Linked DNA regions of Homo sapiens: regions 2, 3, 4, 5, 6 and 7 are each linked to region 1. The links are contacts of gene promoters, found by promoter capture Hi-C in blood cells and fetal thymus (Javierre and others, 2016). All regions are on one chromosome and are shown on one strand. The core of a region is centred on a gene start or on the middle of the fragment in contact, and the rest is flanking DNA. Distances in the headings are between cores, read along the strand shown.

Region 1 (4,242 bases), core at 697-3,196:
AATGCCCACCCAACATAAAGCAGAAAGGGAAGGCTCTCCTTGCACTCCTGGGAGAAAAGAACAAGAAAGAGGAGTTTAAAAGAAAAAAAAAAGAGAGAGACAGACAGTAAACTGGACCTTGTTACTCAAAAGTGTGGGCCACGAACTAGCAGCACCTGGGAGCTAGTTAAAAACGAAAAATATCAGGCCCCACCCCAGGTCTACTAACTCAGAGTCGGTAAATTAACAGGATTCCCAAATGATTCATATGCACATTAAAGCGTGAGAGTCACTGAACTAAAGTAAAAGTAGAAGACTGGGGAGAGACACTTCCTTCATTATAACAGAAGGACAAGGTGAGGTTTGTATGTGGGTTAGTTTGATGGGTCGGTTTGAAAATGATCATGAATCAGTCTCATGGTTTCTGTCTTTAAAAGTTTTTATTCTTTCAGCAACAGTGACTTTATAAATTCTATTCATTCATTCCAAAAAAGCTAATGAGTGCCTACAATGTGCATTGTTTGACTTTTTTCAGTCCTCTACATTAGGGTCTCTTTTTGGCATGATAGTTTACTCATTTCCTTAATTTCAGAAATCTTCACTTTTACAAGATTTGTCCAAATCAAATCAACTGAATTACTGTAAAAGGCAGTAATCTTCTTCCTATGGATACACTATAAACAAAGTGCAATTTCTTTTAAAATGACAAATCATACTGGGACTAAAATGTCTTAGTCACAAAATGTAAAAACATAGTAAGATATACCAATGAATCTGGAACAAGAATATCCTTCCTGCAGACTGCTTGAAAGCATCAAGTATAAATTCAGCGCATATTAAACACATGCGATGTGCTAGGCCATCTGCTAAGCATTTCAGACAAAAATATGCATGAAATAGTCCCTATAATACAGTATGGTATATAGGGCTGACTTTATGGGACTGAAACCTATGTAGTCACACAGGCCTTGCATTTGGTTTAAATGTTCCTTTGTTGTTCTGAATAAATTTACCTTTGAAACTTTAAGTGAATGAAATACAAGTACGTAAACTCTTAAATGAAGCCTGATAGGAGAACGGACCAGGCCTATCTCCTGGTACGTGACCAGGGGATATGGACAAGTAAGGAAAACAGTTTTATATTTTACTACCTTTATTTTCATGGCCCTTTCCTGCTTTTTTGAACAAGGTACTCTGCATTTTTATCTTCTACAAGGTTGGGCTGATTCTGTAGCCAATGACGACAGTCAAATACAACTATGTGCTAGATACTGTGGTAGAAAGGACAATGGAGCCATTGGCCATGAAAAGGTCAATGATGACTTCACAGGGAAAATGATACTTAAGTTGGGCTTTGAAGGACAAAAAGGAGTTTGCCAGATGACTGGCACTCCAGAAAAGAACAACATTCTTACATAAATATGTAGACTTACAAGTGTACATTTATTTCCTCCAAGTTAAAAAAAAAAGCGCTTCATTGAAGTTTTGTATATTTTCAATACACTGTTTTTTACAATTTTTTAAAGAGCTGTGTACTAGGCACAAATTCCACTTCCTGGGGAAGCTCACCTTCTGGCAGAGCAAATGCAGGAATAAGAAATATACAGAGGTGAACAAACATGCCTTCGGTTTCGATTTTTACCTGGGTTTGTGCCTCTTCCCCGGGCCGGGGAAGCGGTTTGCGGGCTTTCGAACTGGTATGGGCTGTAGGCTTCGACCTTCTCCGAGGCCTGTGCAATCAACCGTGAGAAAGGGGTTTCCTCCTCGAAACGGAACTGGCTCCAGTTGGCATGGCCGCAGAGTTTTTCTATTTCTTTCACCAAGTACCTGCCGCACAGCTTCCTGGCACTGCTGATGTCGCTCAGTTCACGAGAAAACCGAACCAGCAGGAGTCCAAGCCACAGCAGGGACAAGCGGAGGAGCCGCGGCATCCCTGTGACCCCAGGCTAGTCCTCCGCGTTGTGCAATGGCGGTCGGCCGGACCCTGCTCCCTGTCTGCGCCTGCGCCAGGCCGAGCGGCGCGCACAAACACTGCGGAATTCCGAGCGCGTGGGGGCGTCGCCAGAACTTCAAGGGAAGGCGCGCGCCGGCTGCGTCAAGGCTTTCCCGCCAGCTCAGGGGTCTCAGGTGGTCGAAGGTAGCAGGCCCTGGCTCCTAAAATGAAAGCCAAAAATCCCCTCACTACCCCGCCACCCCCTAGTTTGATTCATTTTTCTTTCCTTCCTCAATGGGAGATTCCTCACCAAGCGTGAGAACATAGGATCCCTGTTACCTGATAACGTAGGTTAAAAAGTGTTGCTCCCTCCACCTGGAATGCGTTTCTCGTTCTTGTTTGCCAGGTTGTTAATAAAGCTTCGTCTCCCTCACAGAAACCCCCTGTCATCTCTTTCACGGTGTTAATCGACCTGTTTCCATTTGTGGGCGTGTAACCTCTTTCCTGAGACCCCCGCTTCATGAAGGCAAGGGCCTGCGTCTGTTCTTGCTTTCCATCGTACCCCGGGATCTGGCATTTAGCTGGCAATCAAATATGTGGTGAAACGTTTAAGTGTTGCATATGGCCATGTGCGTTTAGTCAGGTTCAAAGCTTCTTCAGAAAAATCCTACTGGTTCACAGGGAGGCATGGGCCTTAGCCTCAATCTCCAGAAAAAAGAAGTAGGGACGCTGTCTTGAGGTACCTGGGATGGAAATCTGGTTCTTTCGGTTAGATAATGTAGAGGATTGTGTATTACCAAATTAACTTGTGACAGGGACCCCTAGAGGATTTGCCTTGTAAGAATAACAGCATGCAGCATGAAATGCTCATTTAGGTGAGATAATTTTGCTCAGTTAGGAGGGAAGGGGCAGGGAAGCGAAGCGCAATCGGCATAGGTAGCTTTATCATTTTAAATGAAGTTCTGTGTTACTAGTGTGTTGGCGTGGAAGGATGTACTATCGGCCACAAGAGGGCATTCGGTGGCTGTCTCAGGAATAAGGTTCAGGATGCTGAAGCCACAGGTGCAAGCTTATCAGTGATCTCACCATTTCCCTATACAATTTTATTTTTTTCTCCCTTTCTTTTCTGTCTTCTGACTCTATGTCTTTTTCTTAATTTTCCGTTTCCCTATCTTTTCCCTGCTTCCCAGTGGCATCCATGAATGCTGTTAAATTAACTGCCAATTGGATTTTTTAAATGGTTGATATAATATAGATTAGTAAAATTTAATCACCTTCCTTAAAAAATAACTTATGTCCAAACTATAGTGGGCCATGAGTCCTAGTCAGAACTTTATCAGGTAAGGTTTTTGAGAACGGAAAATATTAATCATACTGAGATGAATGTAAGCCTTGTGGTAACCACAAGGCAAAACCTATAGTAGATATATAAAAGATAAAAAAGAAGAAATCAAGCATACCACTACAGGATATCATCTAATCACAAAGAGAACAAGAGAAAAAGAAAAGAACAAAGGATCTACAAAATAACCACTAAACAATTAACAAAATGCAGTAGTAAATTCTAACCCATCAATAACTACTTTGAATGTAAATGGATTATGTTCTTTGATCAAAAAACAGGGCTGAATGGATAAAAAAAAAAAGACTCAACTATATACTGCCCACAAGAGACTCATCAAAAGACTTGAACTATACTTTGGAACAAGTGGAGCTAACAGATATTTATGGGACATTCCATCCAACAGCAACAGAATACGCATTCTTCTAAAATGCACAGAGAACATTCACCAGAATAGATCATATGTTATGCTACAAAGCAAGTCCTAATAAATTTAGAAGAATAAAATAATATCAAATATCTTTTCTGGCCACAATGGAATGAAAGTAGAAATCAATAAAAGGAGGAACTTTTGAAAACTCACAAATATGTGGAAATTAAAGAACATGTTCCTAACTACCAGTGGGTCAAAGAAGAAATATAAAGGGAGTTTAAAAAATATCTTGAGACAGGCTGGGCTCAGTGGCTCATGCCTGTAATCCCAGCACTTTGGGAGGCTGAGGTGAGTGGATCACTTGAGGCCAAGAGCTCAAGACCAGCCTGGCCAACATGGTGAAACCCTGTCTCTACTAAAAATACGAAAAATTAGTCAGGTGTGGTGGCAGGCACCTGTAATCCCTGCTGCTCAGGAGGCTGAGGCAGGAGAATGGCTTGAACCTGGGAAGCGGAGGTTGCAGTGAGCTGAGAGGGCATCACTGCACTCCAGCCTGTGTGACAGAGTGAGACTCCATCTCAAAAACTCCAAAATGGAAACACAACATACCAAAAT
Region 2 (4,242 bases), core at 740-3,239, 500 kb after region 1:
AAGGATTCCCTATTTAATAAATGGTGCTGGGAAAACTGGCTAGCCATATGTAGAAAGCTGAAACTGGATGCCTTCCTTACACCTTATACAAAAATCAATTCAAGATGGATTAAAGATTTAAATGTTAGACCTAAAACCATAAAAACCCTAGAAGAAAACCTAGGCATTACCATTCAGGACATAGGCATGGGCAAGGACTTCATGTCTAAAACACCAAAAGCAATGGCAACAAAAGCCAAAATTGACAAATGGGATGTAATTCAACTAAAGAGCTTCTGCACAGCAAAAGAAACTACCATCAGAGTGAACAGGCAACCTACAACATGGGAGAAAATTTTTGCAACCTACTCATCTGACAAAGGGCTAATATCCAGAATCTACAATGAACTCAAACAAATTTACAAGAAAAAAACAAACAAACCCATCAAAAAGTGGGCGAAGGACATGAACAGACACTTCTGAAAAGAAGACATTTATGCAGCCAAAAAACACATGAAAAAATGCTCATCATCACTGGCCATCAGAGAAATGCAAATCAAAGCCACTATGAGATATCATCTCACACCAGTTAGAATGGCAATCATTAAAAAGTCAGGAAACAACAGGTGCTGGAGAGGATGTGGAGAAATAGGAACAGTTTTACACTGTTGGTGGGACTGTAAACTAGTTCAACCATTGTGGAAGTCAGTGTGGCGATTCCTCAGGGATCTAGAACTAGAAATACCATTTGACCCAGCCATCCCATTACTGGGTATATACCCAAATGACTATAAATCATGCCGCTATAAAGACACATGCACACGTATGTTTATTGTGGCACTATTCACAATAGCAAAGACTTGAAACCAACCCAAATGTCCAACAATGATAGACTGGATTAAGAAAATGTGGCACATATACACCATGGAATAGTATGCAGCCATAAAAAATGATGAGTTCATGTCCTTTGTAGAGACATGGATGAAATTGGAAATCATCATTCTCAGTAAACTATCACAAGAACAAAAAACCAAACACCGCATATTCTCACTCATAGGTGGGAATTGAACAATGAGATCACAGGGAGACATGAAGGGGAATATCACACTCTGGGGACTGTGGTGGGGTGGGGGGAGGGGGGAGGGATAGCACTGGGAGATATACCTAAGGCTAGATGACGAGTTAGTGGGTGCAGCGCACCAGTATGGCACATGTATACATATGTAACTAACCTGCACAATGTGCACATGTACCCTAAAACTTAAAGTATAATAATAAAAAAAAAGAATATGTTAATGAGGGATCTTGGCCTGTAGTTATAATGTCTTTGTCTGGTTTTGTTATGAGGCCTCATAAAATGAGATAGGAAGTGGTTCCTTCTCTTTGGTGTTCTGGAAGAGTCTGTATTCAACTGATATTATTTATTTCTTAAAGAGTTGGTAGAATTTACCAGTGATGCTGTCTCAGCCTAGAATTTTCTTTGTGGAAAGGATTTGAATTGGAATTATAATTTCTTTAACAGACATTGGCTTTTCAGGGTACAGATTTCTTTTCAGTGAACTTTGGTGGTTTGTGTTTATCAAGGAATTTGTCCATCTCATCCAAGTTGTTAAAATTATTGTCATATTAATAATGTGACCTCATTATTCTTTTAATACCTCTAGAATTTGTAGTGATATCACCTCTTTGATTTCTGTTAGTGGCTCTTTTTTGCCTGATCAGTGTGACCAGAAATATGTCAGTTTTAGTGATCTTCTAAAACAATAACAAAAGAACCCCAGATTTTTATTCATTGATTTTATTTTTCTGTTTTCTATTTCATTGATTACCACTCTGATCTCTGTTATTTGCATGCTTCCCCACCCTCCACCACTTGCTTTGGATTTCGTTTGCTCTAGTTTAATTTGTTTCTAGTTTAAGGTAGAAGCTTGTCATTGATTTGAGATTTTCCTTTTTTTCTAATATAAGTATTTTAAGGCTGTAAATTTCCTCTTTAGTACTGCTTTAGCAGCATCCCACAAATTTTGGGATGATGTATTTTTAAAATTTCCCTTTTTCTCCTTTGATTCATGGGTTATTTAGAAGTATGCAGTTAAGCTTCAAAATATTTGTGGGCTTTCCAGAATTTTTTTTATTTGTTTCTAGTTTTGTTCTATTGGGATCAGGAAACATATATTATACACATTTTATTTTTACACACGGTATAAACCCCAGCATACACTGCTATTATTCTTGTTTTAAAGCCTGTTATCTTTTAAAGAAATTTAAGTGAAGCAAATGAAATTTGAATTTAATTAAATATTTTTTTTCTGACTCTTACCCCTGTCATGCGGAGACTCTGTTTATATGTATATTGGGCTACATGAAGTTGTTCCTCAATTCACTGATTTTGTTTCTGTTTTATTTTGGGTTTTTTTGTGTGTGTGTGTGTTTCATTATGGATAATTTTTATTGCTGTGCTTTTCTGATCATTGTCTAACCTGTCATTCATCCAGCCAATGTCTTTTTCATCTCAGATATTTTAGTATTTCTGTTTCTAGAGTTTTGTTTGAGTTTTCTATATTGCCTAACCTTTGGAACATACAGAATATAGTTCACATTTGGAACATTATGAAATATAGCAAAAGGTTTTAATGTCCTTTTGTGCTAATTTTAACATCTGATTGAGTTATGCATTGTTTTGATTGGTTGATTTTTCATTATGTCTCATGTTTGTCTTACTCTTCCTGGACTCTTCAGCTTCTTCTCAACTCTGGAAGTCTGCCAGGCTTTGTCTTAGTGCGCCTTCTAAGTGTGCTGACCCAGAAATTCTCACAAGGCAGTAAGCTGGGTAAGAGTAGGAGGGTCACTTCAGTTGTTTCTTATCTCTCAAGGATGACTGGCCTTCATTGCTTGATGCCAGTGTTTTGAAAAGTATTTCATAGATTTTGTCTGTTTTTGTTGTTGTTGTTGTTCTTGTTTTTTTATGTGTGAAACCTTTGTTATGATTTGATTTGAAGCCATTTTCCTTTTGCTTCCATACTCTCCATATTGCAAGAACATAAAATTGCACATAAAGAATTAGAAAGATGATCTTATCTGAAGAATTTTCACCCTTTTGTTTTTGTATCTTACAGTGTTGAAACTCTAGTTTCAAATACATTATAAAATAGTAAAGTTAATGGTCAAAAAGAAAGCAAACCACCTGGTTTTGCTGAAGAAACTAAGTATTTTCTTGGTCATTCCTTTGAAAAACAGGAAGCCAGAATTAGAAAGTAATTTGAAACCTTGGATAATTTCTTGGTTTTCTTTGGTTCTACTTTGAGTACATGCCCACCTCCCTCTAAAATGATAGGAATTCAGTATTACTGTAAAGTAGTTTGGGCAAAACACTGCCACTTCACTCTGTTAGGCGTAAAAATGTTTGGCTGGAAACAGCTAAATATAATATTTTGTACTTACAGAAATGTAAAATGGTTGTTTGAACTTCACAAATGTATGTATGTCATGACGCAGATGTATGTCATGATCATGTAATAGCACTGTTTTTAATACAATTTCTTTTTTTTTTTTTTTTTTTTTTGAGACGGAGTCTCGCTCTGTCGCCCAGCGGGGAGTGCAGTGGCGCGATCTTAGCTCACTGCAAGCTCCGCCTTCTGGGTTCACGCCATTCTCCTGCCTCAGCCTCCTGAGTAGCTGGGATTACAGGCGCCTGCCACCACGCCCGGCTAATTTTTTTGTATTTTTTTAGTAGAGACAGGGTTTCACCACGTTAGCCAGAATGGTCTTGATCTCCTGACCTCGTGATCTGCCCGCCTTGGCCTCCCAAAATACTGGGATTACAGGTGTGAGCCACCGCGCCCGGCCTACAATTTGTTGTTAAAAAATATTTTGTTAACTTAGAAAAATGAACTAGCTGATACTCAAATTTTGGAAATTAAAGGTTTGCTCTGTTTTATGTCTGTATCTGGGGCTATATTTTGTAGTAAATCAGAGACCAAAAGATTGTTTTTGAAATATATAAATATGCTGTTCTGAAGTTAATACTGTGTAAATTTTGAGTAGAGTAAGCGTTTTGTCTTAAAGGTGTAATAAAGCCATAAAGTGGCATTGTTGCTTTATAAACTTAGAATAATAATTTGCCATATTAGTGCAGAGTTCAAAAAGTACTATATATTTTGCAAAATAGTCACTTACTCATTATTGAATAATGCAGTTACTTGAGAGTATGCATGTCTAGAATACTTTATGAAGTACTGATTTCACTGAAAGATTTTGAAATCT
Region 3 (4,242 bases), core at 571-3,070, 460 kb after region 1:
ATTTTACAACCCCACCAATAATGTATGGAAGTTTCTGTTTCTCCACACCCGTTCTAGAGGGTTTGTAGTGGTGTCTTATTTGTGGCTTTAATTTGGTGTTTTTCTAATGACTAAAAAATGTTTGGCATGATTTCATTTGCTTATTAGCTATTTATATATCTTATTCCATTTATATATCTTATTAGCCATTTCGCTATACCTATGTAGTTAATTATCTATTCAAATCCTTTGTCCATTTAAAAAAAAAACAGTGATCTGATCTTGGGTCACTGCAGCCTTGAACTCTTGGGCTCAAGTGATCCTTCCACCCCAGCCTCCCTAGTAGCTGGGACTACAGATGCCCAACAGCATGCCTCACTTATTTAAAAATTTTGTAGAGACAGGGTCTCCATAAGTTGCCCAGGCTGGTCTTAAACTCCCATCGTCAGGCTATCCTCCGAAAGTGTTGGAATTACAAGTATTAGCCATGATGCCCAGACCATTTTTGTTTAAGTGGAATATTTCTCTTATTATTCAGTTGTAAGAGTTCTTTATATGTCTTGATACAAATTATTTAGCAGATATATACTTCGCAAAGTTCTGCAGCATTAAGTACATTCACATTATCATGTAACCATTACCACCATCAGTATCCAGAACTTTCATTTTCATTTTCCCAAACTGAAGCTTCGTACCCTGTAAATGGTAATTCCTGGTTTTCTCATCCCATCAGTCCCTGGAAACTACTATTGTATTTTCTGTCTTTATGAATTTGATTTGTGTGGGTACCTCAGACAAGTGGAACCACACACTATTTGTCTTTTTGTGATTGACTTATTGCACTCAGCATGTCTTAAGTTTTATCCATGCTGTAGCATGTACCAAAATTTCCTTCCTTCTTAAGGCTGAATGATACTCCATTGTATATGTACATACTGCATTTTGTTTTATTCATTCATCTGTTGATGGACACATGGGCTGCTTTTACCTCTTGGATATTGTGAATAATGCTGCTGTGAACATGGGTAGACAAATATCCAGATCCCTGCTTTACTTCTTTTGGGTACATACCCAGAAGTGGACCTGCTGTTTCATTTGGTTATTCTATAGGTTTTTTTTTTTTTTGAGAAATTTTGCTTTTTTTTTTAATGTTAAGAAATTGCCACATACTGTGTTTCCACAGTGTACATCATTTTACATTCTTACCAGCAATACAGTGGTTCCAGTTTCTTCACATCCTTGCTAGTACTTGTTTTCTGTTGTTTTGATGATTGCCATTCCATTGGGTCCAATGTGGTATGTCATGGTTTTGGTTTGCATTTTCCTAATGGTTATTAATGTCGAGCATCTTTTATGTACTTGTAAGTCATGTGTATGCCTTCTTTGAAAGTGTCCGTTGAAGTTCTTTGCCCATTGTTTTTCTTGGGTTATTTTTTGTTGAGTTGTAACGCTTCATGTATTCTGGGTATAATCCTTTATCAGATATGTGGTTTCTAATACAGTTATGCTCCATGTAATGGCAGTTTGAGATGTTCCTGTCAACAGACTGCATTATATGATGGTGGCCCTATAAAATTCTAATGGAGCTGAAAAATTCTTCTTGCCTAGTGACAATAGAAATTTTATATAGTGTAATGCATTACTTTTTCTATGTTTAGAAGTATTTAGATATAGAAATATTTACCATTATGGCACAATTGCTTATGTATTCAGTATAGTAATATGCTATATAGGCTTGTATCCTAGGAGCAATAGGGTATACCTTATAGCCAAGGTGTGTAGTAGGCCATAACGTCTAGGTTTGTGTTAAGTACCCACTGTGATGTTCACATGATGACAAAATTGCCTAGTGATGCATTTCTTGGAACTTATCCCCTCTTGTTAAAGTGACACGTGACTGTATTTTCTTCTGTTTCAAGGGTTACATTTTTACTCTCTTTGTAGTAGCCATTGATGCACAGCATTTTCAATTTTGATGAAGTCTGTCTTACCTATTTTTTTTTGTTGCCTGTGCTTTCAGTATCATATCCAAGAAATTGTTTTCAAATCCAAAGTCATGAAGTTTTTGGCTTGTGTTTTCTTCTAAGAGTTTTATAGGGTGAGGTCTTCTGTTTAGAGTTTTGATCACTTTGAGACAATTTTTGTATATAGTATAAGATAAGGGTCCAGCTTTATTTTTTTACATGTGGATATCCAGTTTTCCCAGCACTGTTTGTTGAAAAGACTTTCTTTCCTTTTCCCCTTTGAATGGTCTAGGTAGCCTTGTGGAAAATAATTTGACTATTTATGCAAGAGTGTATTTCTGGACTCTGTGTTTTATTCTGTTGGTCTATATGTGTATCCTTGTGCCAGTACGACAGTATTTTGATTGCTGTAGTCTTCTAGTAAGTTTTGATGTCAGGAAATGTGAGACGTCCAACTTTGTTATTTTCAAGTTTGTTTTGTCTATTCGAGGTCTCTTGGGAATCCATATGAATTTTAGGATGGATTTTTCTGTTTCTGCTAAAAATGCTGTTAGGATTTTGAAAGGACTTACATTGACTATGTAGATTGCTTTGGGTAGTATTGACATCTTAACAATATTAAATTTTCTAATCCATGAACAGAGGATATCTTTTCATTTATTTGTGTCTAATTTCTTTCAGTGATATTTTGCAGTTTTCACTGTAGAAGTCTTTTGCCTGCTTGGTTAGGTTTAGTCCTAAGTACTTTATTCTTTTTGATGTTACGGTTTGCTGATTTTTCTGTGTTGATTTTGTATTCTGCAGTTTTCCTGAATTCATTCATTCTAACAGGTTTGTTGTTGTTGTGGAATCTTTAGAGTCTTTACATATAAGATCATGTCATCTTCAAACATATAATTTTACTTATTCATTTCCAAGTTAGATTTATTTTATTTCATTTCCTTGCTGATTGCTCTGGCTAGGGCTTTAGGTATTACGTTGAATGGAAGTGGTAAGAATGGGCATCTTTGTCTTAATTCTGACCTTTGAGGAAAAGCTTTCCATCTTTTCACCATTGAGTTTGATGCTGGTTACAAGTTGTTGTTTTGTTTTTTGTTTTTGTTTGTTTGTTTTTTGTTTGTGTGTGTGGGGGTGGGTGGTGGTGGTGGTGGTGGTGGTGGTGGTGGTGGTGATGGTGGTGGTGGTGGTGGTAGTGGTAGTGGTTTTTTCTTGCTCTGTTGCCCAGGCCGGAGTGCAATGGTGTGATCTCGGCTTACTGCAACCGCCACCTCCCGAGTTCAAGCAATTCTTCTGCCTCAGCCTCCCAAGTAGCTGGGATTACAGGCGCCCGCCACCATACCCGACTAATTTCTTGTATTTTTAGTAGAGACAGGGTTTTGCCATGTTGTTCAGACTGGTCTCGAGCTCCTGACCTCAGGTGATCCACCTGTCTCGGCCTCCTGAAGTGCTGAGATTACAGCTGTGAGCCATCATGCCTAGCCAGGTATAGGTTTTTTATATATGGCCTTTTTATTATCTTGAGATAGTTTGCTTCTATTCATAGTTTTTTGAGTATTTTTAGCATGAAAGGATATTGAGTTTTATCAGATGTTTTTTCTGACTCAATTGAAATGATTATCTGTTGGTGGACACTTAGGTTGATTCCATATCTTTGCTAATGTTAACAGTGTGGCTATGAACTTGGGGGTGCAAATATCCCTTTGATGTATTTATTTTGTTTCTTTTGGATAAATACCTAACAGTGGGATTGCTGGATCATATGGTAGTTCTATTTTTACTTTTCGAGAAATCTTCATACTGTTTTTGGTAATGGCTGTACTAATTTATATTTCCACCACAGGAGTTCCCTTTTCTCTGCATTCTCATCAACATCTGTTATGTTTTCTTTTTAATAATTGCTATTCTAACTGGGTTAAGATGATATCTTGTGGTTTTGATTTTCATTTTCCTGATGATTAGTGATGTTGAGCCTCTTTTGATGTACCTGTTGGCCATCCATATGTCTTTTGAAAAAATGTTTATGTCTTTTGCCCACTTTTTAATGGGAATGTTTTGTTTTAACTGTTGAGTTGTTTGAGTTCCTTGTATATTCTGGTTTTTAGTTTCTTGTCAGATGCATAGTTTGCAACTATTGTCTACCATTCAAAAGGAAGGTTATTTCTTTACTCTGTTGGATTGTTTCCTTTGCTATGCACAAAACAAGTCTCAAAACATTTTAAAACTCTGGGAGGCTGAAGTGGGAGAATCATTTGAGCCAGGGAGGTAAAGGCTGCAATGAGCTATGATTGTGCCACTTCAC
Region 4 (4,242 bases), core at 451-2,950, 440 kb after region 1:
GCCTATCTTTGCTTTCAATATGCCTTCCTCACTTAGTTTAATCATTTCTAGCTTTTTACTTAAAGTGAGAGACGGGGATTCTTTCTTTCACTTGAACACTTAGAGGCTACTGTTGGGTTACTAACAGGCCTAATTTCAATATTGTTGCATCTCAGGGGATAGGGAGGCCCAAAGAAAGGGAGAGAGACAGAGGAACTGCCAGTTGATGGAACAGTCAGAACACACATAACATTTATCGCTTAAGTTCTCCATCTTACATGGATGTGGTACATGACACCCCAAAACAATTACAATAGTTACAACAAAGACCACTGACCACAAATCATCATAACAGATATACTAATAATGAAAAAGTTTCAAATATTGAAAGAATTACCAAAATGTGATAAGAGCCATGAAGTGAGCATATGCTATTAGAAAAAATGGTGCCAATAGACTCACTCAACACAGGGTTACCACAAACCTTATATTAAAAAAAAAAATTGCACCAAATCATACTTCCATCAAGAGAGTATAAATGTATCCCCATTTCTTATGTGTACTCTTACCAACATTATTTCTAGTAATTTAAAAAGTTTATAAGTTTCATAGATGAAAACATGCACCTAGTAACTTTTTTTTTTTTTTTTGAGACAGGATTTCATTCCTTTCACTCAGGTGGGAGTGCAATAGCATGATCTTGGCTCACTATTACCTCTGCCTCCCAGGCTCAAGCAATTCTCCTGCCTTAGCCGCCTAAGGGGCTGGGACCACAGGTGTATGCCACAGTGCCGACTGATTTTTTGTAGAGACAGGGTTTCACCATGTTGCCCAGGCTGGTCTCAAACTCCCGGGCTCAAGTGATCCGCCCACCTCTGCCTCCGAAAGTGCTGGGATTACAGGCGTGATTACCCTGCCCGGCCCCCTACTAACTTTTATCATAAGCTTAATCTTAGAACAGAGTCCAAAAATTTTGACAGGAGTGGTGGTGGAAACTAGTAGAAAAAGGAGGAGAAGACCTAAGGCATGAGAACTGTCAGTATATTTTACAAAATAAAGTTAAAATATGATATTTGAAAGTTGAAGCCAGGCACGGCGGTTCACACCTGTTATCCCAGCACTTTGGGAGGCCGAGGCTGGTGGATCATTTGAGGCTAGGAGTTGGAGACTAGCCTGGCACATGATGAAACCCCATCTCTACTAAAAATACAAAAACTAGACAGGCGTGGTGGTGCATGCCTGTAGTCCCAGCTACTCAGGAGGCTGAGGCACAAGAATCACTTGAACCCGGGAGGCGGAGGTTGCAGTGAGCCAAGATTGCACCACTGCACTCCAGCCTGGGTGACAAAGCAATGCTCTGTCTCAAAAAAAAAAAAAAAAAGAAAGAAAGAAAAAGAAATGATGTTGAAAAATCCAGCCAATAACATTTTTGTCACAATAGGGGAACTCTCAAGTATAGGGTTTTGGAGAGTCAGATATTTCCTTTTCTCCCCGCCAGGGAGAAAGACCTAGAGGTTTCCCCCACTCCCTCTCACTGTCCAGAGCAATTACCACAATTTAGTTCAGCCTAAAGAGCATATGCTGTTGGAAAAACAGCAACAATAGACTTACTTGATGCAGGGATGCCATAAGCCTTAATTTTTTTTTTTTTTTTTGAGACAAAGTCTCACTCTGTTACCCAGCCTGGAGTGCAGTGGAGCGATCTCGGCTCACCGCAACCTCTGCCTCCCAGGTTCAAGCAATTCTCCTGCCTTATCCTCCAGAGTAGCTGGGATGACAGGTGCATATCACCATGCCTGGCTAATTTTTGTATTTTTTTTTTTTTAGCAGAAAGACAGGGTTTCACCATATTGGCCAGGCTGGTCTCAAACTCCCGACCTCATGATCCGCCTGCCTTGGCTTCCCAAAGTTTTGGGATTACAGGCATGAGCCACCGCGCCCAGCCAAACCTTAAATTTTTAAAAAAATCACACAGGAGGCTGGGTGCGGTGGCTCACGCCTGTAATCCCAGCACTTTGGGAGGCCGAGGTGAGCGGATCACCTGAGGTCGGGAGTTCCAGATCAGCCTGACCAACATGGAGAAACCTCGTCTCTACTAAAAATACAAAATTAGCCAGGCATGTTGGTGCATGCCTGTAATCCCAACTACTCCAGAGGCTGAGGCAGGAGAATTGCTTGAACCCAGGAGGTGGAGGCTGCAGTGAGCTGAGATGGCACCATTGCACGCCAGCCTGGGCAACAAGAGCGAAACTCCACCTCAAAAAAAAAAAAAAAGAAAGAAATCACACTGGATCTGTAGAAAGAACATCAGTTCTTTTCAGGCCATGTGAATTCAGGCACATCTACCACACCTGTCCTGTTTCCTCACTTGAGAAAGTGAGAATAACAACATCACACCAATGTCACTCACCTTGAATGTTTACTATGAATTAAATCAAGACAAGCATTTGGAATTATTTTGTGAATCTTAAGTGCTACACAGGAGTGTGGCAGAGGAATAAGCTTCTAAAGTCAGCAAGTAAGGTTAAAATTGAGTGCAATAAAAATTGCTTAGAAGTTCCTTAAATTGCCCATGAGCACAGTATGACAAACTTGAGACACATGAGAACAAAGACTCTCTGAGAGACAGCTGGGACAAACATTCAGTAACACTGCCAGCAAAATTGCTGCACTAGAACATTTTCATTTCCTCTTTCTGCCAAGTGCATAACTGAATCTAAGATGAAAGTATGATGCAACTTTGTTATTCTACAATTTGAAATTGGCAAGTTAAGAAACCTCTCTGGGCCTCTTTGTCTAATGGTGTAGCTCAGCTGGATCAGGGTTTCCTCCACGGTTTGTCTGACAAATACTGCCAGCTTACTATGCTTACTATGTTCCAGGCTGCTGTGTTGGACTGGGGGAGGGTAGACGCCAAGGAGACAATCTGATCGCAACAGGCTGGTGAGTGGTGAGGCAGTTTCAACCTCCATTTGAGGAATACAGGATTCTATCATCACCTTCCAGGGAATGCAGTGAATGTTTAGAAAAATTACAGAAAGTTACATATTTGGTTATGAATACCAGCTACAATGCTATATCTAATATGAATTAAGTTTCTTTGTTTCCTTTTTTCTGTTTATGTTGCTACTTTTTTTTTTTTTTTTGAGACAGTCTCACTCTGTTGCCCAGGCTGGAGTGCAGTGGAGGGATCTTGGTTTGCTGCAACTTCCGCCTCCCAGGTTCAAGCGATTCTCCTGCCTTAGCCTCCTGAGGAACTGGGATTACAGGCACCTGCCACCACGCCCAGCTAATTTTTGTATTTTCAGTAAGACGGGGGTTTCACGATGTTGGCCAGGCTGGTCTCGAACTGCTTACCTAAAGTGATCTGCCCGCCTCGGCCTCCCAAAATGCTGGGATTACAGGCGTGAGCCCCAGCACCCCGCCTACGTTGCTACTTTTTAATGTGGGGTCATTTTTTAAACCTGGCTTTTTAATTGAAAAAGTAATACAAACATATGGAAAAATTCAAACTGTACTAAAAAAGGTAGACAATGAGAAGCAAATCTTTCTTCTATTTCAGACTCCTCCTTCCCCCATTCCACACCATATCCCCTCAACCCTCCTTCTATTCAGACGTTACCACTGGGTCAATCCGTTGAAAGTTACAGCTAAGGTGATACCTGGGGTCCAAAAGCTAAATATGGACCTACGCTATCACCAGTCCCTTCCAGTTCTAAAACTAAGTCCAAGCCTTTTGCAGCACGAAAGAGATAGCCTCCTCTCATCTAAAGTTATGGCTGGTAAGGCTGAGACGAATGGAAATGGATTTCAAAGACATAGATTTAGAACTCCTGAAAGGCAGGAGACAGAACTCAATACTTTCATGGTGAGTGGTTTATTTACTGATTAAATAAACGCTCCCTTAGGGATGTAAGCTCCACACCGGCAGGAGCTTCATCACCAGCTCTCACTGCAGACCCCGGCATTAAAGGAGCTCACACGGTAAAAGCCCCTACCGCCCACCACAGCCACAGCGGCCGGCAGCCCAAAGTGGGAAACCGCGCCGGCCGTCACGTGACTCCAGCTCCCCCCGGCAACCGGCCCGCCCCCACCGAGACCCCGCCAATCCGGAAGGGAGGTCCAATTTGGCCAGGCCAGGGCGTGTTCCACCGGCCCAGTAGCCTTGCTGCTGCGTTATCCCTAGACTCGCCCCACTTGCCTCGGAGTCTCAGGCCGTTGCCTAGGTCCTCCCGGTAAAACCCTGGAGACTGCTAGGGAGAG
Region 5 (4,242 bases), core at 1,296-3,795, 380 kb after region 1:
TAAATACTAAAAAACAATATTAAAATAAATTTTGTTTAATTTTAGTTGAGTCTATCAACTCAAAAAAGAATAACGTACAACAATAACAAGTTTCAGAACATTTTTTAAATTACTGATTTTATGAGTATAAAAATAAAAAATAAAAAAGTATAAAGAAAACAAAAATAATTTAGAATCCATTGCCTAGAAATTGCCATGGTTAAGATTTTAATATTGCTCAGGCCCAGACAGCTCAGGGCTTTGACATTCCCACACCCATTCTCTGCCATCCCAGTTCTATCTCATCCCAAAACCATCCATTATGAGGAGAGTGTACAGCTCTAGGCTGCCCGGGAGCCATCCCGCACTCTCATTTTGTGACTCGGCATCTTGGGAGATGGAGTCTTGGGACTTAGCCTGGACATGTCCCTTGCATGTACTTCTTACAAGACTTTTATTCAGATGAATATTTTCCCTTCCAACTTAAGAAGCACAGGGCTTGCTGGTTTTGCTTCACTAACCAGCAACTGAAGCAAGACCTGACTTGTGAAAATGCCTAATAGAGTTCAGTATTAGCGCTGTTTCACCATTTCCTGGATCTCTTGCCTTTGTGCACATGATAGAATTGCACTTCTCTGTGATTAATTTGTAGTTAAGTGTGGTCATGTAACTCGCTTTGGTCAATTAAATGTAAGCATAAGTGATGCGTGTTATTTCTGGGTAGAAGATGTAAGAGTTGGCATATGCTTTGCCATATTTTCTTTATCCATCTGGCATGGTAACCAGTAACATTCTAGGTAGTAATTGCTCCATCAGTCTCAGTCTCTGAGTGACTAAAATTGACAGAGTCCCCTGCTGACCCTCAATGTACATGGAACATGAACAAGAATAAGCTTTTGTTTTTTATATTGAGATTTTGGAGTTGTTTGTTCCTACAGCATTACCTAGTTTACTCTAATACAACATGGAAAAAACTGGAACCTATAATAAATAGACCCTACGTTGCCATTTAAACTTCTAGTTCTGAGGAATAATAATGTGGGGAAATACTTTCTATATAATAAAAAAATAGAAAATTGCAAAATAAAAATATACTTATGTATCATTCATGTCCTATTAAAAATGTTATTTATAGACTCACCATATTCCCTTCCTCCAGAAAAACAGAAGTAAAAATATGAAAATGCCTGTAATCATGTTTTTGGATTATGGAATCAAGTATTGCTTTTTACTTTTATGTTTTCTGAATTTTTGTTGTACTTCACTACATTTTTGAGTGCCCTGATGTATTACTTTCAAAAAGAAGAAGAATACTTTCTGAAGCCATTTCAACCATCCCCACTCACCTCTCTAGATCCCAGTAACCAAATACATTATATAGGACTCTTCATCAGTCCTTATCAAGTTTAGGAAGGGCGATGCTATACCTTCTTTAAAGGACACCTACCAATGTCTTAGTTGCCTTTCAAAGACTCCTAGCACAGCTAAATGTGATGGATATGCTCTAAGGATATAAGAGCTGAAGTGACTTGCATAAGGTCATATCATAACTTACTGTTAGAAATGGAGCTAGAACTCAGACCCACTGAGTCCTTGTCTGTGACACACTGCCCTTTCCATTTGTGGAAGTTGTTCTTGTATCTAACTTTATCTGTGCTACTATTTGGGCCTAGCCATTCTCCCTCTTATGCAGACAAGCAGATAAACAGTAAAACTTTAGGAGTGGATTATGATACCATAGATATATATCATCTATCCTTTACAAAATAGTTATTACAGTCATCAAGCCTTGGTTAGAGTTTACAGACCATGTATCCTAGCTACCTCATTTCACAGATTATGACATTGGGGGCTAAGAGATATTAAGTGACTTCCTTAAGTGAAACAGTAGCAGACCAAAAGAAGTCATGATTCCCAGCATAGTGCTACTCACTCATTTATTCATTCATTCACCCACTCACAAACCTGTATTAAGTTTCTGTTATTTGCAAGACCCTGTCAGTTAGGCCATGTGGGAACTAGAAGGATGAATTTATCAGTCATCCAAGATTCTTACAATTAAGTATTACCGATAAGGTACTCAAGAAACAGTTCTCATTCACATAATTTGGGTTAAAACAAAAAGAAGCCAGCTTTCTATATACTTTTGGTCCAGTCTTTACGTTTTTTGTTTTGTTTTGTTTGTTTTCATGAGTATCCCGACTTCCTTCTAAGAACTTCCACCTGAGAACTGACCACAGCGTCAGCATTCCACATGGGTGTGTTTCCTTTCCCCTTTCCCATTTCAGTGGTTTCCAATTTCTTTTTCTTTTGGCACTATAAACCTTTCGCAAAGGAAATATTAGACAGAACTCCTACATGTCAAGCAAATTAAAATAGTGGTGAAATTAGAGTGGAGGACATAATCACCCTATCATATAGGCTATTTGTCCATATCATATTTGTCCCTACAAAGGCCTCTAAGGCAGGGGTCCCCAACCTCTGGGCCGCAGACCGGTACCAGTGGCCTGTTAGGAACTGAGCCACACAGCAGGAGGTGAGCGGGAGACAAGCGGGCACTACTACCTGAGCTCTACCTCCTGTGAGATCAGCAGCAGCATTAGATTCTCATAGAAGCGTGAATCCTATTGTGAACTGCACATATGAGGGATCTAGGTTGTGTGCTCCTTATGAAAATCTAATGTCTGACGATCTGAGGTGGAACAGGTTCATCCTGAAACTATAGCCTACCCCCACTCCCACACCCAATCCATGGAAAAATTGTCTTCCCTGAAACCAGTCCCTGGTGCCAAAAATGTTGGGGACCACTGCTCTAAGATACCTTGTGCTTCTTGGAACATATTTGGAAAATCATGTAGCTCTCAAATTATCCCTATGTCCTGAAGCCCACCTTACCATCAATCCTCAGAAATACCCAACCCATGTCAGGCAACTTCACACTTTCTTTCTTCAGGCAGCACAGTTGTCTCAGGGAGGGAGGAGAGTGCTATTAGCAAGAGGAGTCACTAACAGCTTCACTCACCTGTGCCCATGAATTTTTAATGGTGTGAAAAGTCTGTGTATTTTTTATGGTTCTCTATGGCTCATATAAGAGGGACAAACAATACATGAAAGTTCAGAGATGGGGACAAATATCACTTTAAGCTGGGGATAATCAGGGAAGAAGAAAGTTTTCATGGAGAAGGTGACTTTTGAATCAGGAAGAAATGGAAACAGCAAACTCTTCTAGATAGAGGAGACACTAACAGGAAAGGCAGAGAGGCAGGAAGGTGTGGGAAAGTGCACGTGACCCCGTTCAGAGAGAAAGCCAGGTGTGAGATAAGGGGGAAAGACTGTTAGGGCATGTATTGTAAACCACTAATTCCAGGCAAAAGTTAGATTTTACTTACTAAGCAAGAGTGCTTCAGTTAGATCCTAGCAGGAAATGGAGGGTATGCTTAGAAGAGGTAACTGAGGCAAGTTTAATTTATAAAGGTGTGTGCAGCATTAAGGGAAACCAGCAAGGGATACTGAGCATGCCAGGATGCAAGAGCAGGCAGGGAAGGTGACTATTCCTAGGTCTGAAGGAGAAAGGGGAGGGAGCAGTTCCCAGAACCCTAGTAAAAATGGCAATGAGAAAGGTCCATCTGGCAGGACCTATGGTCTTTAACAGAGGGACAAAGTCAACCCACAACTTGTCTGGGAGGTTGCTGAGGAATAGATACCCCAACCTCTCTCTCAACCCACTGCAACACTCTTTTTCCCCTAGACTGAGCCCAGTCAAAGACAGAGGGAGGAGCCCAGTGATGCAGTCTGCAATGTCATCATCCTGGAGCATGAATAGAGTGCAGCAGGGTGAATAATGAGTCTGCAGGAATTAATAGAAATATCTGACACAATAGGGAACTATAAGAGGTTTTGAATAGGAGAGGCCCCTGAAATGTGCTCCAATATTACTGAACTATGTGTGGCCCAAAGAATGGAAGAGGAACAGCTCTTGCAATAGGTCTGAGGAGAGAAGCTGAAGACTTGGACTAGGGCAATGGTAAAAACTGTGGAAAGAAGTTTTAAATGAAAAGTTTTAAACCATGCGGCTTCCAGCTAGATGAACTTTTTTAAAAAAATTAGTTCCTCACTCAAATTTTGGGGAGGTTATATATTTTCTAATCATAAAAAATGATTTTTCTTATTTGTGGGCTTTTCTCCCCAGATCTGAACCTGTGGTCTTGGGAGCCAGGGTGACCTGATATGACATCTAAAGAAGCTTCTGGACTCTGAACAAGA
Region 6 (4,242 bases), core at 1,114-3,613, 350 kb after region 1:
GGCATATAATAAGTGTCCAGAGACTTGGTTAAAAGACCCTCAGTTGTTACAGGGGCAGTGACCTCCTCACACCTCAACCATCAATGAGTCACCAGGAAAGCCATTAGCCTAGATGTAACTGTTTTCTATCTTTATTGCATTTCCTACATCCAGGCAGCAGCTGGGAGGAACTCTAGAACACTGAAGTTTGTCTGAGTTCCCTTAATGTAAGGCTGTACATTCTCAGGATGCCTTGATGTACTCGAATATCTGCAACCCTAAATCACCACCTCTGTTTTTATTGATCTCTATCTGAATGCTGTATTAATGGGCCAGGCCTTCTGCCCATTCTCTCAAACTGAGAACTGTCTCTCATTCCTGGGGAGGCACCCTGCCTACTCCTTACCTAGATCAGGGATTTCTCAGTTGTGGAGAGATTTGTTCCTTATAGTGTTGGTCATCAAACTGGGATATTTGGGGATTACAAAGACTTTTCAAGGGATGTATGGGCACAGGCAGTTTTAGGAAGTGAGTTCCTAGATCCTCATCTTCCCCAAATACTCGTTCCCAAAATTGACGAGCCTGACAATGTGCATGCCAGGCAAGGCTCTTGGGGTTCCCCTAAAACACTTCCTCTTTTAAGCCTACCACTCACTCATCATGAATATAGTCCATTGTCCCAGGGTGTAAAACCCTCTATAGTGTTAAATAAAAGAATGATTGGGAACATTGACACCTGATGGAACTGTTATGACTAAAAACCCTTTTGCAAATAATGTGGTATCTAATTTTCTGCTTTCAACAAAATTGAAGGAGGCCCTTATAAAGTTAATAACTGATAATCAAAAATGAGTAATTTTTGCCATGTAAATCAGGTCAAAGAATGAAATGGCATTGCTGTAACGAAACTGCTTCCATTCCCATTGATTTACTCATACGAACAAGATTCCTTAGCCTTTATAAGCTACAAAAAAATGAAAAATAGAAATAGAATTGAGGCTGAATTCTATTATATAAAATCATTCCAACCATGTCATATGGTTCTTCGGATTCATGAATAATTTGGAAAAGAGAGCCATATCCATCTTATTAAGGGACACATTCCCAATAAATTTTCATCTTTCATGTTTAATAATTATCAATATTCATAACATTTTACATTTTGATCAAATATGTGTTAATAATAATAGAAATAAATGTCCAACAACGATAGACTGGATTAAGAAAATGTGGCACGTATACACCATAGAATACTATGCAGCCATAAAAAATGATGAGTTCATGTCCTTCGTAGGGACATGGATGAAGCTGGAAACCATCATTCTCAGCAAACTATCCCAAGGACAAAAAACCAAACACCGCATGTTCTCACTCATAGGTGGGAATTGAACAATGAGAACACATGGACACAGGGAGGGGAACATCACACACTGGGGACTGTTGTGTGGTCGGGGGAGGGGAGAGGGATAGCATTAGGAGATATACCTAATGTTTAATGACAAGTTAATGGGTGCAGCACACCAATATGGCACATGTATACATATGTAACAAACCTGCACGTTGTGCACATGTACCCTAAAACTTACTGTTAAAAAAAAAAATTAGATCTTAATGCAGAACACCCTGAACATTTAAAGCTTCATAGTCACAAGAGAAAAGTTTTCATTTCAATAGCTATAAATATTTTGTTGTTGTAAAGACATATAACGATAATCAATACAAAATCTGTCAAACAAAAATATGTTACATTAAGATAAAATTCTGTAGGGAAGGTGAAATTGGAAGTGAGTTTCAATGAATGAAAAGAAACAATTTAGACAGAGAAGAATTTTTTCATTTAATAATTTATTTATTTTTACTTAGAAGGAATTGAATAGATTAGGTTCCTTACCCAAAAAGCCTCTGTTATTTGTCTTATTTATTTATTCTCTTTTTTCCACATTCTCCAGTCTCATTCCCCTTTTTTAACACAGGAAATTATTCCAGCATGTTTCATACATATTCTTTTGTTTGTAAGAGCTTATTTAAAATATGTAATATTGTTTTAGATGCATATATTTTTTTTCTTGTGGAAACTATATTGTACTATATATATATATTTTAGAAATGGACACATTAGGCCGGGCGCGGTGGCTCACGACCGTAATCCCAGCACTTTGGGAGGCCAAGGCGGGTGGATCATGAGGTCAGGAGATCGAGACCATCCTGGCTAACATGGTGAAACCCTGTCTCTACTAAAAAATACAACAAAAATTAGCCGGGCGCGGTGGCGGGCGCCTGTAGTCCCAGCTACTGGGGAGGCTGAGGCAGGAGAATGGCGTTAAGCCGGGAGGCGGAGCTTGTAGTGAGCCGAGATCGCTCCACTGCACTCCAGCCTGGGCGACAGAGCGAGACTCTGTCTCAAAAAAAGAAAAAAAAAAAAAAGAAATTGACACATTAAGTTTATTGTGAAAACATGATTACAAGCAATAACAGATATAACAGCAGAAAAAATTGTGAAGTTATGTGCACCTTCTTTTGAGATCATTTTTTTGGGTATATGTGAATGTATTTTATCTTTTTTTAATTGACAATAATTGTACTTATTTATGGGATACATAGTGATGTTTCAATATATACAATGTATAGTGATCAGATCGGGGTAATTAGCATATTTATCATCTCAAATATTTATTATTTCTTTGTGTTGAGAACATTCAATGTACCCCTTCTGGCTATTTGAAGCTATATACTGTTGTTAAATATTTATATGTATTTTTCAAGGATAATGTTGTATATAAAAGATAACTTCTTTTATATTTAGTCACCTTTGGATACATATGTAAGAGTAAAATAATTGTTTTACTAAAAAAATTCATAAGATGCTGAACATTATATGTTTTTCCAGTATAGAAACTTATGAAAAATTATAAGAATCAACTTAATAGGTGAGAAGAGCATACTGCATCATACTTATTTTAGGAGGAATACAAGCAAAAAAAAAGTTGGACCATCACCTAAGAGTAGGCTACCCTGATCCAGGGTCTCTAAAAGAAGCAAGATAGATCTGAGGCCCCAATGAGGGTTCCCATGAATGAAGTAGGACTAGAAGAAGGACATGTTTTTATCTTAAAGTGCCTGATCCATGGCATAAAGCTTGAAAATGGGTTTGTTTATAGCACCTTCGTTGATGTCTGGGCAGAAATTCTTATCAAATATAATGAAAAGAGTTAATTTCAAAAGGACAGAACAAATTATGAGGTGGAATGACCGGAGATTCTGGAAGAGACAGTGATAAAGGACTGTGGTTTCTGAAAAGCCAGGTGGCACCTACATTTCTGGGGGCAATCCATCTGAGGAAGGGGCGGGAGCATGGCCAAAGAACAGAGAGGCCCCAGGAGCCCAGGGGTCTCTCAGAGGAGCTGGGGTTGAGAACTGGTCTGTGCAAAGGTTTCCAGACAGGGTTGCAGAGGAGGCACTAAAAACAAGAACACCAAGAGCCAAACCATCCTGAAGGCCTGGGCAGGGCAGGGGGATGGGAAGAGCCAACACCAGGAATGGGCTGAAGCTGACAGAAGTACTTCAAACCAGAAACAATGAATTTAAACTATGCCCTACCACAAATAGACTTAACAGATATTTACAGAACATTCTACCCAACAATCGCAGAATATACATTCTATTCATCAGCATATGGAACATTCTCCAAGATAGACTATATAGTAGGCCACAAAACAAGTCTCCATAAATTTAAGAAAATCAAAATTATATCAAGTACTCTCTTAGATCACAGTGGAGTAAAACTGGAAATAAACTCCAAAAGGAACCTTCAAAACCATGCAATTACATGGAAGTTAAATAATGAGTGATCATTGGGTGAACAATGAAATCAAGATAGAAATTTAAAAACTCTTTGAACTGAACGATAATAGTGACACAACCTATCAAAACTCTGGGATACAGCAAAAGCAGTGCTAAGAGAAACATTCATAGCATTAAATGCCTACATCAAAAAGTCTGAAAGAGCACAAATAGGCAATCTAAGGTCACACCTCCTGGAGCTGGAGAAACAAGAACAATCCAAACCCAAACCCAGCAGAAGAAAAGAAATTACAAAGATCAGGGCAGAACTAAATGAAATTGAAACAAAAAAAATACAAAAGAGAAATGAAACAAAAATCTGGTTATTTGAAAAGATAAATAAAATTGATAACCAAGAAAAGAAGAGAGAAGATCCAAATAATCTCAATTAGAAATGAAATGGAGATATTACTACTCATATCA
Region 7 (4,242 bases), core at 571-3,070, 340 kb after region 1:
AGAAGGCCTAAACAAAGGAAAGACATGCTGTATTCATGAATTGGAAGACTAAATATTATTCAGCTGGCTGTATTCCCCAAATTGATCTATGGATTCAATGCAATCCCTACCAAAATTCCAGCTTCCTTTGTCTGCAGAAATGAGCAAGTTGACCCTAAAATTCATTTGAAAATGTAAGGAAGCCCGAATAGCCCCCTAAAAAAAAATCTTGAAAAAGACTAACAAAGTTGGAGGACTCACACTTTCCAGTTTCAAAACTTACTACAAAGCTACAGTAATCAACGCTGTGTGGTACTGACATAGGATAGACATATAGTTCAATAAAACAGAATCGAGAGTCCAGAAATACATCCTTATATATATGATCAATTGATGTTTTGCAAGGGTGCCAAGACAGTTCAATAGGGAAAGAATAATTTCCTCAACAAATTGTACAGGCACAACTGAATGCCCACAATCAGTAGAACAAATTTGGAACTAAAGTTCTTATATTTAGGTTCTTGATCCATTTTGTTTAATTTTTGTATATGGTATGAGGTAAGGCTCCAAATTTGTTCTTTTGCATGTGGACATCCAGTTGTCCCTGTACAATTGCTCCATTTATATTTATCTTAGCAGAAAATACAGATGTAAATCTTTGTGACCTTGACTAGGCAATGGTTTCTTAGGTATTACACCTAAAGCACAAACAATAAAAGAAAAAAGTAGATAAATTGGATTTTTTTACTTAAAATCAATTTGTGTTTCAAAATTAAATAAAATCAAAATTAAATTAAAACATTTATCCTTCACAGGATTCTATAAAGAAACTGAAAAGACAATGTGCAGAATGGGAAAAAATATTTCCAAATCATATATTTGATAAATAGTTTGGCAATTCCTCAAAAAGTTAAATATAGAGTTACCATTTAATTCAGCAATTCTACTCCTACATATGTACCCAAGATAATTAAAAGTATACATAGACAAAGACTTGTATATGAGTTTTCATAGGAACTTTATTCATAATAGCCAACAAGCAGAAACAATCCAAATGACCATCAACTGATGAATGGGTAAGCAAAATGTGGTATATCATACAATGGAATATTATTTAGTCACAAAAAGGAACGCAGTGCTGATATATGCTACAATACAGATGAACCTTGACAACATTATGTTCGGTGAAAAAAGCCAGCCACAAAAGTCCACATATTGCTTGATTCCATTTTTATGAAATATCCAGAATAAGCAATTGATAGAGACAGAAACTAGATTAGTGGTTGCCAAGGGCCATAGGGAAAGGGAAGGGGAAATAGGAAGTTTCTGCTAATGGGTAAGGGGTTCCTTTTCAGGGTAATGAAAATGTTCTAAAATTGGATAATAGTGTTTGTTGCACAACTCCGTGAACATACTAAAAACCACAGAGTCGTGCACTTAAAAAAAGTTTGTGTTTTAAATATATATACACACTTAGACACATATAACCCTCTTTCGTATATCAATTATACTTTAATAAAGCTGTTGAAATTTTTAAAATAAAATTTTAAAACAAAGAAAAAATATATAAACTCGCCAACAGACCACTTCTCACCCCTACTAGCCCCTCTACTCTAAGCTATCAGCATTTCTGCAAACACATTCCTAACCGATCTCACTGCTTGTAATCTTGCCAGCAACCTCTCCCTCTCAGCAATAGTCTATTGCCTACACCAAAGCTTAGTTGTCTCTTAATGATGTAAATGAGGTTCTATCATTCTCCTGACCCAAACCCTCCACTGCTTTTCATCACACTCAGAGCAGCTCTGCTGTTGCCTGATTTAGATGTATGGCTCCAACAGATTTCCCCTGAAGAAATGATTCCATGGCTGATAAAAGTTGGAAAGCCTCCTCAGTTTCAGACCATTATCAGATTAGCTGTGTGCTCTGTCCCTTTCCTCAACCATAAGAAGTCCATGGATAAAGAAAGCTTCAGAGTAAAGGAGAAAGCATGGGAGGTACAGCAGGACCAAGGTGGGGCATTCGCAGCCCCCACCCTCATCAGAGCCAGTTCCCTACTCTCCCTGTCTAAACCTCTTAGTAAGAGGTAGTTCAAGAGAGGGGCAAACTCAATTCCAGCACTCAAAAGCACTTGACTACTTTGCTCAGTCAACTAGCAAGTATTTATTGAGAATGTAGCTCTGTTCTATGGAGTCTTATTTTCAAGTGTCAGACTCCCAGACATCCAGTCCAGGTAAAGAAGATGGTGTCCATTATTCATTTGACAAACAAAGTTGGGGTTCAAGGGCCAGCTATTGAAAAAAGCTATGGAAAGCTTCATGAGACGTGCAGGTAACTGCCAATATGTGTGGTTCACAAGGACTGGTTCATATTCAGAAACGGCCATTAGAAAAGGAAGAAGAACTTCTCATTTGGATTTATAAAGAGTGTCTTGTTTACTCTTAATTTATATCTTCTCTTCTCCAGGAAATCAACCTATAACTTCTCCTCCCAGCTCCACTCTACCATGGTCTGTCACCTTCCCCAAATGATTTGTTATTCCCCTGTTTTCAAAAGTGAACAAAGAACCAAAGACCCAGCAAAGTTTCACAAGGCCCTGAGACTTTCAATTGTCTATTTCAGATCAAATACAGAACATGATCTTCCTCCTGCTAATGTTGAGCCTGGAATTGCAGCTTCACCAGATAGCAGGTAAGAAAGGACAAAGGGAGAGGCTTAAGAAAGAAGAGCAGGTGGTGGTTCCTAGCCAAAGCCAAAAATGAGAATGTGGCCCTCAGGCTGAGGGCTTTCTTTGAGAGGACGTATGATTTCTGGGCTATTCCAAGCACCACAAAAAAAAAAAGAGTCCCCATGGTGGCTTATACATGCCAATGTCCCTATCTGACAGAAACGGTGACTGAGAATATTGCTCCATCTATTCCCACTATCCAGTGAGGGTAATGACAAGAAGACAGGATCACTCAGACCATGTAAATCTAAACTGATACAAGAGGGCAGGGGTTGAGTTCCCTTAAAGGTGAGATGCCAAGCAGCTGTCCCCTTCCTTTCTGGCAGGGAGAGTAAGGAGACAATGGCCAGGGAACACCGTTACTCTAAAGATAATGTCTTGAAGACATTCTGCATATTATTAGTTGTTTCTGTGAGTTTCTTTTTTGAAAAGCAACAATAGCAGCCGTTGGTCATTCATACCTTAATGTGGTTTACTGAGTCTTCCTAAAACCCAAATGAACAATGAACCTTAAGGCTATCCCTTTGGACTTGAAGAAAGGACTTCTATTGGAGGATGAGGGTGAGCAGAAAGAAAAGCAGTTTCACAGTTGGTTGTTCTCCTGGGGAAGGTAGTTCAGACCATTCGAGGGTGTAGTTAGAACCATGAGTGCACTATTTTGGATGAACACCAGGAGCTAAGAGAGTAACATAGAGGTGTGGACAGAGGATTAAGTCCTCAAGACAATAGCCCCAGCCCCATGGGAAATCATCTTTCTGCTCATGATTGAGAAATAATGGCTCCCTTGGCACTTGATAACCTTTCGAAGAGCTTTCTCCTCCCTACTAGCTGGTTCCAGATCACTCTTCACCCAGTCACATTCCTCTCACTCACTTGAGCTGCCCAGCCTGGTCTGGCACTAGAGACATGCACTTGGGGCCCTCCTCAAAGGAAGACCCTGAGATATTCTGCTTACTTCTACTCTGCTCCTGCCTGCAGGGCCAGCTAAAGGAACTTTTCATGTTTTCTTTGCAAGGAACCCTGCCTGGCTGGCATTTTAGAGACAAGCAAAAGGGGCAATAACTTCCTTGCTACAAAACAGCTTCAAGTTTCCATAGAGTGATAAGGGAAATGAGGGCCAAAAGACACTGTTCCCCATCCTGTGGCAGGACTGGGGGCTTCAGGAGAAAACTTGGGGAATGTGTAACCTCTGTGGGTTTGTAGCTTAAAAACACTGAGATCCTGGGTTTTCTGTCTTTGTTTTTTGCCTTTTCTCTTAGGAAAGGAGTGAGCTAGGGTGACAAGGGGCAACATTTTTTATCCCTCATTGGCTCTTTCTACAGAGGAAGGATCTTTTCTTCTAAGATAATCAGCACAAGACAATGAAGATAGGCACTAGCTCCCAGTTAGGTATACTAATGGGGCAAAAGGAAGAGCATTTACATTTATTGAAGATTCACTAAATGCCAGATACTGTGCTAGGCAATTTACATATGGTATAGTTCATTTAATCTTCACAATGATCATTTTGCAGGTGAGGGAACTAGAACTCAGAA

What was found. The method cuts DNA at HindIII sites, captures the fragments that hold promoters and counts their contacts. A CHiCAGO score of 5 or more calls a contact.
Region 2: a contact is called between a fragment that was not itself captured here and the fragment with the promoter of INSL6 in region 1, in 2 of 17 cell types (naive B cells and naive CD8 T cells). The highest score is 8.0, in naive B cells.
Region 3: a contact is called between a fragment that was not itself captured here and the fragment with the promoter of INSL6 in region 1, in 1 of 17 cell types (naive B cells). The highest score is 5.1, in naive B cells.
Region 4: a contact is called between a fragment that was not itself captured here and the fragment with the promoter of INSL6 in region 1, in 9 of 17 cell types (activated CD4 T cells, total B cells, total CD4 T cells and 6 more). The highest score is 11.7, in activated CD4 T cells.
Region 5: a contact is called between a fragment that was not itself captured here and the fragment with the promoter of INSL6 in region 1, in 5 of 17 cell types (naive CD4 T cells, total CD4 T cells, naive CD8 T cells and 2 more). The highest score is 9.5, in naive CD4 T cells.
Region 6: a contact is called between a fragment that was not itself captured here and the fragment with the promoter of INSL6 in region 1, in 1 of 17 cell types (activated CD4 T cells). The highest score is 5.6, in activated CD4 T cells.
Region 7: a fragment that was not itself captured here is called in contact with the fragment with the promoter of INSL6 in region 1 in 1 of 17 cell types (naive B cells); the score reaches 5.3 in naive B cells.

Annotation. Positions count from the first base shown.
Region 1 is chr9:5,183,693-5,187,934 of GRCh38, forward strand. It overlaps INSL6 (insulin like 6), which reads right to left and starts at 1,947. Exons shown (of 2, transcript NM_007179.3): 1 at 1,622-1,947. The coding sequence starts at 1,910. The HindIII fragment of the contact is 2,408 bases long and covers 1-2,329 here.
Region 2 is chr9:5,685,526-5,689,767 of GRCh38, forward strand. The region is part of intron 2 of RIC1 (RIC1 partner of RAB6A GEF complex); the gene reads left to right. Among named protein-coding and RNA genes, the nearest start is that of INCR1, 58 kb to the left of the region's middle. The HindIII fragment of the contact is 170 bases long and covers 1,905-2,074 here.
Region 3 is chr9:5,644,860-5,649,101 of GRCh38, forward strand. The region is part of intron 1 of RIC1 (RIC1 partner of RAB6A GEF complex); the gene reads left to right. Among named protein-coding and RNA genes, the nearest start is that of INCR1, 17 kb to the left of the region's middle. The HindIII fragment of the contact is 2,313 bases long and covers 665-2,977 here.
Region 4 is chr9:5,624,610-5,628,851 of GRCh38, forward strand. All of the region lies in intron 1 of INCR1 (interferon stimulated noncoding RNA 1), which reads right to left. Among named protein-coding and RNA genes, the nearest start is that of RIC1, 2.4 kb to the right of the region's middle. RefSeq lists an enhancer at 2,688-2,907. The HindIII fragment of the contact is 1,557 bases long and covers 923-2,479 here.
Region 5 is chr9:5,565,786-5,570,027 of GRCh38, forward strand. PDCD1LG2 (programmed cell death 1 ligand 2) reads left to right here. Exons shown (of 7, transcript NM_025239.4): 7 at 4,169-4,242. The coding sequence ends at 4,174. All of the region lies in intron 1 of INCR1 (interferon stimulated noncoding RNA 1), which reads right to left. Among named protein-coding and RNA genes, the nearest start is that of PDCD1LG2, 57 kb to the left of the region's middle. RefSeq lists an enhancer at 3,761-3,850. The HindIII fragment of the contact is 3,350 bases long and covers 871-4,220 here.
Region 6 is chr9:5,536,307-5,540,548 of GRCh38, forward strand. The region is part of intron 3 of PDCD1LG2 (programmed cell death 1 ligand 2); the gene reads left to right. All of the region lies in intron 1 of INCR1 (interferon stimulated noncoding RNA 1), which reads right to left. Among named protein-coding and RNA genes, the nearest start is that of PDCD1LG2, 28 kb to the left of the region's middle. The HindIII fragment of the contact is 1,498 bases long and covers 1,615-3,112 here.
Region 7 is chr9:5,519,932-5,524,173 of GRCh38, forward strand. PDCD1LG2 (programmed cell death 1 ligand 2) reads left to right here. Exons shown (of 7, transcript NM_025239.4): 2 at 2,602-2,670. The coding sequence starts at 2,616. The region is part of intron 2 of INCR1 (interferon stimulated noncoding RNA 1); the gene reads right to left. Among named protein-coding and RNA genes, the nearest start is that of PDCD1LG2, 12 kb to the left of the region's middle. The HindIII fragment of the contact is 251 bases long and covers 1,696-1,946 here.